Linked DNA regions of Homo sapiens: regions 1 and 2 are each linked to region 3. The links are contacts of gene promoters, found by promoter capture Hi-C in blood cells and fetal thymus (Javierre and others, 2016). All regions are on one chromosome and are shown on one strand. Each heading gives the region's core, a stretch centred on a gene start or on the middle of the fragment in contact. The rest is flanking DNA. Distances are from core to core; before and after follow the strand shown.

Evidence for each region. The method cuts DNA at HindIII sites, captures the fragments that hold promoters and counts their contacts. A CHiCAGO score of 5 or more calls a contact.
Region 1: a fragment that was not itself captured here is called in contact with the fragment with the promoter of CLOCK in region 3 in 1 of 17 cell types (endothelial precursors); the score reaches 12.2 in endothelial precursors.
Region 2: a contact is called between a fragment that was not itself captured here and the fragment with the promoter of CLOCK in region 3, in 2 of 17 cell types (M2 macrophages and M0 macrophages). The highest score is 6.6, in M2 macrophages.

What each region holds. Positions count from the first base shown.
Region 1 is chr4:54,994,775-54,998,797 of GRCh38, reverse strand. No RefSeq gene overlaps it. Among named protein-coding and RNA genes, the nearest start is that of KDR, 130 kb to the left of the region's middle. The HindIII fragment of the contact is 628 bases long and covers 1,856-2,483 here.
Region 2 is chr4:54,660,418-54,664,953 of GRCh38, reverse strand. The region is part of intron 1 of KIT (KIT proto-oncogene, receptor tyrosine kinase); the gene reads right to left. Among named protein-coding and RNA genes, the nearest start is that of KIT, 4.7 kb to the right of the region's middle. The HindIII fragment of the contact is 558 bases long and covers 1,083-1,640 here.
Region 3 is chr4:55,544,111-55,548,345 of GRCh38, reverse strand. CLOCK (clock circadian regulator) reads left to right here and starts at 1,437. Exons shown (of 23, transcript NM_004898.4): 1 at 1,437-1,564. LOC124900704 (a long non-coding RNA gene) reads right to left here and starts at 2,481. Exons shown (of 2, transcript XR_007058122.1): 1 at 1,736-2,481; 2 at 457-730. RefSeq lists silencers at 1,162-1,531, 1,592-1,691, 1,812-2,441. The HindIII fragment of the contact is 4,589 bases long and covers 1-3,075 here.

The sequences.
Region 1 (4,023 bases), core at 920-3,419, 550 kb after region 3:
TGGTAGTTTTTTGGTGTCCTCTTAAATGTTGCTTCTCATTCATCTCACCCTGATTCTGGTCTTGCCTATGCCATTGATCATTGAGAAATACTCCCATATATGGTCACACTCACCCCTCATAGCAACCCAATAGGTAGGTATCACTAGCTGCATTTTGTGGTGTAACAAACTGAGCAAACTGAGACAGATTAAGTGCCTGCCAAACTTTATGCAGCCAATTGAAAAGTTTAACCTGTTCAAGTTGATCTTGAACACAGGCTACATTCTTGCCACCAAAGCATAGCTGCAGTCCAAGGCAATAATACAAAGACACTATAGGGAATCAGGTAAGAGTGGAATGAAATACATGAATAAAATTCATCTGAAGAAGTATTATGATTGAAATGGAGATCATGAGATGCTTAATGCAAGGCGACTGTAGTGGTCTGAGCAGTATTGCTTTCCATGGAGTATTTGATAGGTAACTCTCAAAAAGTTTGTTGAATCAAATATTTTCACTTTTCTTATTCTGTATTCTTTGCACCAAAGAAACATCTTTCTCAACAACTTATTTAAGCCATTGACTAGATTTGGCATGCAAACCAGTTCAATGTGTCAAAATCCTACTTGTGGCTGGGTGCAGTGGCTCATGCCTGTAATCCCAGCACTTTGGGAGGCCGAGGCAGGTGGATTACCTAAGGCCAGGGGTTCGAGACCAGCCTGGCCAACATAGTGAAACCCTGTCTCTACTAAAAATACAAAAAACATTAGCTGGGCATGGTGGTGGGCGCCTGTAATCTCAGCTACTTGGAAGGCTGAGGCAAGAGAATCGCTTGAACCCAGGAGGTGGAGGTTGCAGTGAGTCGAGACTGTGCCATTGCACTCCAGCCTGGGCAACAAAAGCAAAACTCCATCTCAAAAAAACAAAAACAAAAACAAAAAACAAAACAAAACAAAACAAAACTCTACTTGTGCACTCCTGGTCCATCATAGCAACCTGCTTTAAGTATTCATTTATTCCTTAGTTAAAACCAGGAATTAGTTTTCCTTGGATACACACCATCAAAGCCATTTTTAATTAAATTCTTGGCAGAATGCAGGGAGAAACATTTGATTAGCCAATCTTCATGAGGATGATATTCATAAGTTGTGTGGAAAAATTGTTTTCATTATTTAATAATTATAGCCCATTCTCTCTCATATGCTTATCTGCATATAAACATATATGCAGCATATAAACAATCTGAAGCATATAAACAATAATCTGAAAAAAAAAAAAAAAACCTCAAGACATTTGGATTTTGGCCACAGGTAGAAATGCCCCCAGATAGCCCTTGCAATGCAATCTTTTGCACTAAGCATATTTAGGAAAGCAGGAGGCTCTTCCTTTGAAGTGCTTAGTTTGGAATTTAAAAAGTGCAGCCTTTCATTCAGGAGACTGGTGGATAAATATATGCCATAGAAGACCCATGAAAGGGAAAGCCTCACCAGCTTCTTCACACATGTGCTTTTCGTCTGGGTTTCAGCGATGCTAAGAGAATTCAGATTTATACGTGAATTCTATTTGTCTTGTTCAACTTTCAGTGCAGAGAGAACAGCCATTTATATGAAATGAATGCATGGAAAAAGTTGTTTCAAGAAAAATGATTGTGATAGAGATATTCTCTGTAGATACCTCTGGGGAATTGGCTGTTATTAAATATTATTGAATAACATAGTTAAATGTTCCCAAAGGGAAAGTTTCATATAAATTTAATGTCCCCAATGAACTATTCATTATTTATTTATTCAATACATATTGATGGTTTAGGAATGTTCTAGGAGCTGGGGATACAGCAGTGACTAAGGCAGGCCACATCCTTGTCCTCTTGAAGCTTACATTCTAAGGGACAGACAGGCTGGTATGGTTTGGATTTGTGTCCCCACCCAAATCTCATTTGAATTATAACCCCCTATATTGGAGGTAGGGCCTGGTGGGAGAGGATTTGATCATGGAGGTGGATTTCCCCCTTGCTGTTCTCATGATAGTGAGTGAGTTCTCAGGAGATCTGGTTGTTTAAAAGTGTGTGGCATCTCCCCCTATCTCTCTTCCCTCCTACTCCAGCCATGTAAGATGTGCCTGGTTCTCCTTCACCTTCCGCCATGATTGAAAGTTTCCTAAGGCCTCCCCAACCTGTACAGCCTGCAGAACTGTGAGTCAATTAAACCTCTTTTCTTTGTAAATTACCCAGTCTCGCATATTTCTTTATAGTAGTACAAGAACAAACTATTAATAGTACACGGGCTATAAGAAAACAATTAATGGAATAATATAATTTCAGGTGAAACATGAAAAGCATAAATCAGGGTTAGTGATAGAGATTGATGGGATGGTTAGTCAGGCTATTGCAGCAGGATATCCTGGGAATATCTTTCTAAAAAGGGACATTTGACCAGATATTTGGATAATATGAATGCTTAAGCTGTGTGAGAATCTGGAGGATGTCTTCCAAATGGAAGAAGCTTTTAGAATGTGAACTCCATGAAATGAGAAACTTTGTTGTGTTCACTGTTGCATCCTCACATACTCCGCATTTGATACATCCTTGTTGAATTTTTGCTCATGAAAGACCTTGTTGTGGGAACGATTAAACAGAGCAGCATGTTGGAGCTGAGGGAGTAGGGGAGGAATCAAGTTGTAAAGTTGTCATTGTTCCCGGTGTCTTTACTAATAGAGCCTCTTTCAGTCTCAACACTGCCTGGTTTGGATGGATAAATTATATGTCCACTTTCCTAACAGGCTATGGTAAGGAGTTTGGATGTAATCGTGATGGGAAGTCAGCAGAAGACTCTGAGTATGGGAGCAGTGTTATTTTCTCTGTTAAAAATAGATCTTTGTGGAGATAAATATATTATGGAGGTGGCGGTTGGGGGGTGTTAGGCAATAGTGGAAATGAGGTGACAGTGAGGACAGTTAGTAGGTAATTACAATGATCCAGGTGAGAGATGATAGTGATATGGACGAGGGTGATAGCTGTGGAGGTGACAAAAGTGGGCAGATTGGGAATATAATTTAACATAAAGATGGTAGTCTTGTTGAAGATTTTAATGTGAAGTAGTAGACAACGAGAAACCAAAGAAAACCCCTAGGATTTTGGAGATACTGTAGGAGACCACAATTATACAACCTTGAAGTAAATGAACCTTCTACTTTGGGCAGGTTAAATTTGAGGTCCACAGTGAACATTAAAGCAGAGATACTGAAGAAGAAGTTGTATACACAGGTTTGGAGGCCTGGTAACGATGTGGAATTCATCAGTATATAATTAATATTTAAAGCCATTGGACTGAATAGGATTTCCTAGGAACTGAGTAAGGATGGAGAAGAATGAGGACTGGGTCTTGGAGCACTGCAGCATTTAAAAATAAGAAATGAAAGAAGCTAATGATGTCTCAAAGGATATTGAGATATACGAGTAATTGGGAAATTAATAGAAATAAACACAAAATGGGCCTTAGTTTAAAGTCAAACATCATAAACCTAAAAAATTTATATTTTAAAAAAAGAATGTGTACTTTTTAAAGAAAGGAGAAAAGGCGAGAAAAGAGAAAAGAAGCACACATCATAAAAAATACAATAAATTGAAAACATAAAATAAGGCAGAAATGTTATAGTATTAAAATTATTATAATGAATACAAATGGTTTAATTTTATCAATATAAAGAGAGAATTTCAGAATAATAAAAAGATTATAACAATTTGCAGTCTGTAAGAAACACACTGAAATAGGATATCAAAAATTTGAAAATAAAAGGATGTAATAAGCTATATTAGATAAAACATGAATCAAATTAGATGGAGTGGTATTATAATATCTGAAAAAGCAGAATTCAAGGTAAAATATGTCATAAGACACAAAGAGGATGTATCTTGGATAAAAGAATATGGAGTAATAACATGTAAACATTAATAAACCACATAAATACCTATGAAGTAAACTATATAACCTCAAGAAATACTATGCAACAACTTGAAAAAGTTTAGGGAGAATTACTAAGTCAAC
Region 2 (4,536 bases), core at 112-2,611, 880 kb after region 3:
TTTAAAGATGATTAAGGTAGTAAATTTCATTTTATGTATGTTTTACTATTAAAAAAAAAAAAAACAGGCCAGGTGTGGTGGCTTACATCTGTAACCCCAGCATTTTGGGAGGCTGAGGCTGGGGGATCGCTTGAGCTCATAAGTTCGAGACTATTCTCTACAAAAATAGAAATAAAAAAATTAGCCGGTGTGGTGGCACACGCCTGGGGTCCCAGCTACTCAGGAGGCTGAGATGAGAGGATCACTTGAGTTCAGGAGGTGGAGGCTGCGGTGAACTATGATCGTGCCACTGCACTCCAGCCTGGCAACAGAGCAAGACCCTGTCTCATAAATAAATAAATAAATAAATAAATAAATAAATAAATAAATAATAAAAACAGACTCTCCCTTAGTCTTGGTTGCCCACAGCAAGGGAGTGTCCAAGTTTTAAGGCAGGGCTTGGCCTCTCGCTTCGTCAGACTATTGGAACAGGCTGGGGAGTATGTCTAATTGGACAGAATGGTGGAACAGGCAGCCCTGGACTAGTATGCAAAGCCTGGGGGGCCACTCCTGGGTCAAGTCCACCTTAGCCTTGACTTCAAAGCATTCTTCATAACCTAGACCAAACTCAGCACTAAATACACATTCCCTCCATGCTCCTTGAGGCTAGTAAGAGGAGTCTTACCTTCCCAGCCAATTCCCTACCCCCAGCCATCATACCAATAGAAAGGTTTGATAATCCTGAAGTAAGATCCTAATGCCTTGTTCCTTGTACTGTAGTTTTTTTCAGCTGAAGCCACAACTACACTGCCCTCTTCCTTTAAGGTTCAGAAATTAATCTCAAATATTATCTCCTATGTGGATGCTCTTACTGATTCCTGATCTCTATTACCTGCCCATCAAGATTTAAGCTCATCTCCTTGAAAATCCTGCCCAGAGCACTTTACACTTAAGAAAACCAAATTCTACTTCGAATCAGGGGCTGTGCTCTTGCCCTGGCCCTCCTCCACCCCCAGCCTGTAACGTAGGACCAAGGCATGGGGATTGATAAGCCTTTGTTAAACTGAATCCAAAATGTTTACTGACCATTTATGTTCAAAGCTTAGTGTAAGTGCTGGAGAATAGAAAAGATGTTAAACTAATACTTACTGAACACTAACCGCTGTGTCTAGCCTGGGGCAATGGACAAGTTCAGCTTGGTCCTTGAACTCCTAGTGAAAGCAGTCATGGAAAAGCTCCTTGACTGCTTTCATGGACCCTAGGTGAACTACATGTACTTATTCACCTACAGAAAATGGCCATTTGCAGACATTCCCCCAACCTAAACTTTTATCAAGAAATTTGTATCTCTTTTGGTGGAAAGTAACCCAAGAATACGGCTAAACAAAGAGCCAAGCAGATAAACATGCATTACCACTAATTAACAACTTCATCTTAATACGAAAAAAAAAAACCACTCTACATATTCTGTTTACACGTTTTCAATTTTTTTCTAAGAGGCAAAGCTGAAAGGGGAACATAAGAAAATCAGCCTGATAGTGGAGTCCACACACTTCCTCTATGCGGGGCACTATGCTAAGCATATTACATGCAGAATCTCATTTAATCCTCGCAGGGGCCCTATGTCATCATCTCCATTTTACAGATGAGGAAATGAAGCTTAAGGAGAGGTTAAGTGTCTTGTCCCAGAGCACACAGCAGGGAAGAGGCAGAACTGGAATAAAAATCCAGCGTGTCAATTTCAGAGCCCAAGCTCGTAATTAACTGATGCCACATGTCCTGAATAATAATTTGGCTTAAACCTTAAATTTTGCAAAAATGTTGAAAACCTGTCAGAAAGGTATGCATGGGAAGATGTCTAACAAAAGTGTGTCATAACCAAAATGTAAGCATGAAAGCTAAAACATAAGATGAATGGGAAAAGTACCAGACACAAATGTTATGTTGGAGAATCTTACAAGATGTGTAGTTTTTTTTTTTCCCCCCTGGAGAAAAAAAAAGTTCAAGATCTATTCAATCTCTAGGACTAGTGATTTCCTAACTCTTATCAAAAGCTAAATAAAACAAGACCAAAAAAATTAAAGCTTATTTTTAAAACTGTCGGCCAGGCATGGTGGCTCATGCCTGTAATCCTAGCACTTTGGGAGGCCGAGGCAGGTAGATCACCTGAGGTCAGGGGTTCGAGACCAGCCAGGCCAACATGGTGAAACCCCATCTCTACTAAAAGTACAAAAATTAGCCGAGCATGGTGGCGGGTGCCTGTAATCCCAGCTACTCAGGAGGCTGAGGCAGGAGAATCGCTTGAACCCAGGAGGTGGAGGTTGCAGTGAGACGAGATTGCGCCATTGCACTCCAGCCTGGGCAACAGGGCAAGATACTGTCTTTAAAACAAACAAAAAAAATGCCTTTCTAATCTTTAGGGCAATCATCTTAAAAGAGTAGGCATTATTCCCATTTTAGGGACAATAATAATTCCTGTTTTACAGACGATAATTATGGCTAACACATATTGAGCCTGTACTATGAGGCACCACTCTAAAAGTTTTACATGTAGCAACACATTTACTGGCACAGAGAGGTTAAGTAATCTGCCGAAAGTCACAGAGCTAATAAGTGGCAAAACTAGGATGGACAATGAAAGCTCAAAAAGGTTAAACAATTTGCTCTAAGGCCATCAAGCTGTCAGTCATGAAGCCATCAGACCAACACAAGGTAGGCCGGCCTGTCTCCTCCCACTTGTCATCTGCCTGGTCCCAGGGGCATATTTGGATTCCTGCACTCACCAGGGCCCAGTGGGGAATGCCTAAGGGATGGCAGGATAAAGCCCTAGAGCCTAATGCAACCTGAAGAGCACAGGCCTCATCTACAGGGGCCATGACCTTCAATTCTTAAAGAGGAGACAGAAATAGAGATCTTGATTTAAAAAAAATCTCTAGATTGTTTAATATCGCCTCAATGTTTTCTAAAAAGCATCATGTAGGCCAAAGAAAACATGTCTCCTCGGGCTATCAGATTACAACTGCTCTTTACTTATTAAGAGTCTTAGGTCAAAAGATGAGCTGTATGATCACATCCAAAAAATGTCAGAAATCAGAGCTGCTGGGCCAAGCCGACTCAACTCAATTCCTCTCTATGACTCAACTCAATTCCTCTCTAAGTACAACAAAGATTTACACTGGATTTGCCCTCCAGGCAAACTTTTACCTCCTCTAACTCTTCCCCAGGCCTTCTTCAATCCGGACTTATAGCTGTGGCAATATCTATTCAAGTTACCAAAACTGCACATGAAATTTGCATATTTGGATTCCTGCAAATGTCATTCAATCTCAACTTTTAAAAGTTACCGCACATTAATGCAGCAAAAGAAAGCATTTCCCACATCCTAGCCTGCCAACTCTTAAACTACATTCATTCTGAAGAAAAAGCTGCCACAGCCTTGACCACTACCTTGAAGGGGTCCCCACACTGCAGGCCAGCTCTGAGAATTCCGCTAGAGACACCGAGGTTCATTTCCTCGTGTCCTTCTTTAATCAGCTGGAAGAGACTTGAGGAAATGAGTCAAAACCCTAAGGGTAACTTCGAAGGGCTGTCAACAACAGCAGCAAAATTCATCACCACCACAACATCTGTACATAAATGTTCTCCAAGGGAAGCCCGCAGAATACTTGGCACATTTCTGATGAGAATTTCTTTTGGGAGAAAAAATGGCTTTGGATGGTAGATTGTCATTATTTCTCACCATGCTATCCAGGGTAAATAGCCAATGACATCAGCCATTATTGGGGGTGTTCTCTTTCACACCTATGCACAAGACCATTTTTATGTTTTGGAGTGGGAGATGGATTTTTAACTGGCTTGCATCATCCTTTTAGAAACAGCTTACCTTCATTTCTGAGGGACGCTAACTGGAATGAGATAGCTAACAACTAAGCCAACATACCACAGGGTCAAATGCCTACAGCCCTTCCTCCAAGCTAAAATTTAATTAATCCTCCCTCCACAAATAATCCGCTTTCATAAGACACGCAATTCTAAATATTTTTCACCAAAATTGGGAAGGTAGTGACATTGGCCATCCTGTATTCCCAGAACTTCCAACAATCCCTGGCACATAGTAAAAACTCATTAAATATTTTTGAATGAGTCTTACAACAGATTCTGGTGAATCATGTGAATGGCTATAGAGCTGGGCACATGCAGCCAATCTCATCAGGCTTCACCACTGATGATTTAGGGCTTATCCTTAGCCAGTTTCTCCAGCTGTAAAATGTTAGGGGTAATAATAGTACTACTTCCTAGGCTCATTGAGACTACTAGAAATAGGTAAAGCCCCAAGCAAAAGGCCTGGCACACAGTTTCCAACTGAAGAGCAACAACTATGTACACCACACATGTCATACGAAACTTAAGGCCCATTAGAAAGCATGCTATAAATGCATAGCATTACATGATTTACAGAGTCATGAGAAAAAAAATGGGAATGAGTGGGGGAAAAAACAGAATAGGGATAAATGAATTATCTGGGGTCTCTTATTTCCAGCAGGATAATAATTTAGA
Region 3 (4,235 bases), core at 188-2,687:
CGTGTTGCCTTCTTTCTCAGAATTCACGTGTGGAAAGATGGCTCCAGGTCTCCATTCTCCCAGATTTAAACCCATTGGTAAAGACGTAACACCCTTCTTAGGAACCGTAGTTTGCAACCGAGGATTAAACTCAAATATGCCTTCCCCTTGTGTCCTGCTCAGACCATATGGACTGAGAGTGGATAAATGATAGTTCTTCAAAAGAAATTATCAGAATAGGGAATGAATGCTGAACAGGCAAAAATGTCGACCAAAATATCTTCTGCTATATGATGGGGTAAATTAACAAATCATGTTTTCCCACTCCTGAAAGAAAAATCCTTAGGTGCAGGATCAAGGATCTGAATAAGTGCTTCAGTTTGATGTTCTTTTGCCCAGAGCATACAGCAAGAATTGAAAATGTTTACTGAGGTGACTGTTACTTTAAAGGGAGGATTTTACGGCCAGAAAAGTGCATTTTTTGAAAGAAAAAGATGGCTTTTATTTCAAATCCAAAAGATATTCATTAAAACATAGGAATTACTAGGAATTAAGACTGTAAAGATCTCTTTTCCAGTAGAAGCACTGAAATGTGCTTTCTCATGTGGACCAAATGTGCCTTAACGCATCAAGATAAGTAATTTCCCGAAGATAAGTAGTAGTCACACGTTGTTCCAACGAGGAAATCCATGCAAATTAGGGTCCTGGTTTATTTCTGATGCTTCATTCTCCATCTTCCATTACACTGTCACTTGATTTTTAATAAAAGGGCAAGGGAAAAATCTCCAAATGAGCAAATAAATCCCGACCTCCTTTCGCTTCCCTCCTCTGGCCGAGGGCGCATGCCCTGTCTCCCCAGGCCCACCCACCAAGAAGAAGCAACCCAAGCCGCGCTCCCTCAGGAGATGGGAGAAGATGTTACTGGCGGTCCAGGCGCCTTTGCAACTCTTCTCTCCCAGCACCAGGAGAGGAAACACGAATGATGCCACTGGGGGAAAAAGTCTCCTGCCAACACCCGAAAAATCTAAGCTGGCGTCGGCAGTGTTTTGCTTTGGAAGGGAGAGCGGGTTCCTTTTCTGGCCTCTGGATCCCTCATCCGGCAGGAAGCTCTTCTTCCTCCTCCTAGCCCCCGGCATACGGGGGGAAAGCCAAAGAGCCTCCAGGACCTAAGGCTAGCGCTCTGCCGGCCGGCCGCGCCCTCCACCCGACCAGGCCCCGCCTCCCCGGCTTTCTAGTAACCGGCGCCGTTCCCGGCCGGGGCAGGGAACGGTGCGCCTGCAGAGCCAGATTTCGGCCCAAGGGGCGCGGGAGTCTCTTCGGGCGTCCGGGATCCCCTGGCGCGGCTCCGTGCTGCCTAACGGGGCAAGTCGCATGCGCACCGAGCCGCGCTGGGGAAAGGGAGAGTGAGGGGAGGGGCGAGCGCAGAGCCTCCGCCGGCCGTCTGAGCCCGCGGGGTCGCTGACGACGCATGCGCCGGGAGGGGGCGCAATCACGGACTCGGCTTGCGGCTGCCGGTTTAAAAAAGGAAACCCCGGAGAGCGAGAGCGCGAAGGAAATCTGGCCGCCGCCGCCGCGAGCGCTCCCGGTGAGAGGCGCCCGCCCGGTGGGCCCAGGGCCTGCCGAGTGCCGGTTGGCTTCCTTGGCGGCGCATGCGCGCTCCTGGGCTGGTGGAGGAGGGGAAGGGAAGGGAGGGGGAGGAGGAGCTGGCCACAGGAGCGGCGAATTTTTGGGGGGGTGGGTGGGGGGCGCCACTCACAGCCCCAGGTGCTGCTGGAGGTGGGAGCCGCGGCGCCTCCTGGACACAGGCGGGGTAGTGGTTCCGAGTCACCGCAGCGGGAGACCTGGGTGGGGGAGGGAAGAAGCCGGAGCCGCCGCAAGCCACACGGTGAGGGCGCGGGGAAGGGGAGGGAGCGGGGGGCGGCGTGTGTGGGGCCGGGGGGCGGCGGCCAAGGGTGGGGAAGGCGGGAGCTGAAGCCCAAGTTTGGCGTGTCGTTCTAGTGTGTCTTTTCCCGGGACTTCGGGCCGAGGCCCGCCCTGCCTGAGAGGCCCTCTGGGGCAGCTGGGGTTACCTGCGGGGCAGGGGCGGGAGTGGGGTGCACGGCGGGGCCGGGCGGCTTGAGGGCGCCCGGAGCTGCGGCCGATTCCAGCAGCTGGGAGGCGGGGAAAGACGGGGACCGGGTGCCGAGAGAGCTTTCGCTGGGGACCCGCTAGGCCTTGTGACCCACTTTATTCCTGTCACCACTCGGGCACGTTTGGAGCAGCGCCCAATGGGGCGCCGGGGCGGCCAGCTCCTCCGGGGAACCCCCGCCCTCCCGGCGCCCGGCCCGCGTGCCGCAGTCCGCAGTCCGAACGGCCGCCGTTGCCGGCCGCGGGCTGGTTCCGTTAGTGGTGGTGGTTCCGGGGTTCCGTTCCTAGGCAGCGCGCGGCTATTAGCGTCTGACTCCAGCGACCGCGCGCGGGTTCGAGGGTTGGCGGCGAGGCGCTCGGTTTCTCTTCTTCCGTCCACCCGCGCTTCCCGTTCCCCGTCACCGCCGCTGGCGTTTGTAGATTTCTTTCCGCCAGTGAAGCTGGGTTTTCTGGAGTTGGCTCTGGCGCTCTGGCCCCTGGAGTGTAATTTCCTACACGCAGCGCCGCAGAGTTTATATTCTTTGAAAGTGTTTGTAGCTTTGTAGAGGTCCTCTTGTTGATGGTAGGTGAGCCTAATTCTGCAAGATAAAAGCCTAGTCTCTGACCTGGCAGATGAAAGATCAAATCAGATTGTGGTTTCCTGCTATTAGAATGCCGTGCTATTAGACTTTAAGGCTTTTTAGCCTTCTTTAAAAAATAAAAAAATTTTTACAGTGGAAGAAAAGCACAAGAAGTAAACTTTTACAGTCGTTGATTTGACTATAACGCTGATCCCCCCAAATCAAAGGTAATTTCACTTTGAAGATTGCGTTCTGATTTGTAGCTTTAAGCGATTAGAGAAAATTGTGCAATATTCCCCTCTACCTGTTTGAAAATAAACATTCTTAAAAGGATGTAATTTAGATAATGAATTGCTTTCTCTGAAACTTATCCCTTGGGACACCTCAAATCTGATTGGTTTTCAAAGCTTGGGGGAAGGAAATTAATTCCTGTGATAAGTGGTTGGCTGAACAGAATGTCTTGAAAGGTTAGCCTGTAGCATTAGGAGAAATACCTAATGTAAACGACGAGTTAATGGGTGCAGCACACCAGCGTGGCACATTTATACATATGTGACAAACCTGCACGTTGTGCACATGTACCCTAGAACTTAAAGTATAATAATAAAAAAAGTAAAAAAAAAAAAAGTTAGCCTGAAGAAAGCAGACTGAAAATGTTCTAAAGCTAGGCGTAATCAGTTATGAAAAAAGAATAAGGAAGCTTTCTACGTACTAACATGCAAAGATTGCAAAAATTTGCTATGAAGTGAAAAAAGCAAGGTGTAGCGGTACTTTGTGAATAGTGTGTTACATCTTAAGGGCGAGGTGTAATAATACAAGTTTATGTTTGCTCTTTATATAAAGAAATTATGGGAGGATTTAGAAAACTAACAATAGAGGAGAGGGAGAAATAGTCTGAGGGAATGGTGGGAAATGAGATGTATTATGTGTATGTCTTCATGTTTTCAAATTTTTGTGTGTATTATGGACTCATAAACTGGATTAAACAAAAATCCTCCTCCCCCAAATAATTTGTGTGATTTTTGTTGCCTAATTTATGGTGATTTGAGTCATTTTCAATATGATTGCTTTTCATATTTTTTAGGAAAATCAACTAAAAAGGAAGTTTGGGATACCTTTTATGACTATTTACACTTTAATTTTTAAGATTGCAGAGGTCACAGGCATTTATCTTTTAAAGATGTTTAGTTATATCTTGCCTTGCTAAAATATATGACTGTTTACATTTGGCATTATGGCTGGATTATGCTGCTTTCAGAGTGTAGTTTGTGTTTCCCCCTCCTCTTTTTTTCAGGAGTCATAGATGGGTAAAATTTTACTTAACCCCAAAGTTTCATGACAAACAATTATGAGGAGGATGTGAACATTCCCTTAAAGTGCTAGTAAACTTGATTGTCTAGGTTAGTTTGCTTTTCAGGTTGGGAAACTTTTCTTTCTTTTGAGGAAATCAAACATGAACCCCAGTGAAAGGTAAATTGGGGTGTGTGTGTGTGTGTGTGTGTGTGTGTGTGTGTCTGGTTGTTTCTCATGAAAGTGTACAAAATGAACATTTTTTTAGGACTGGATTGT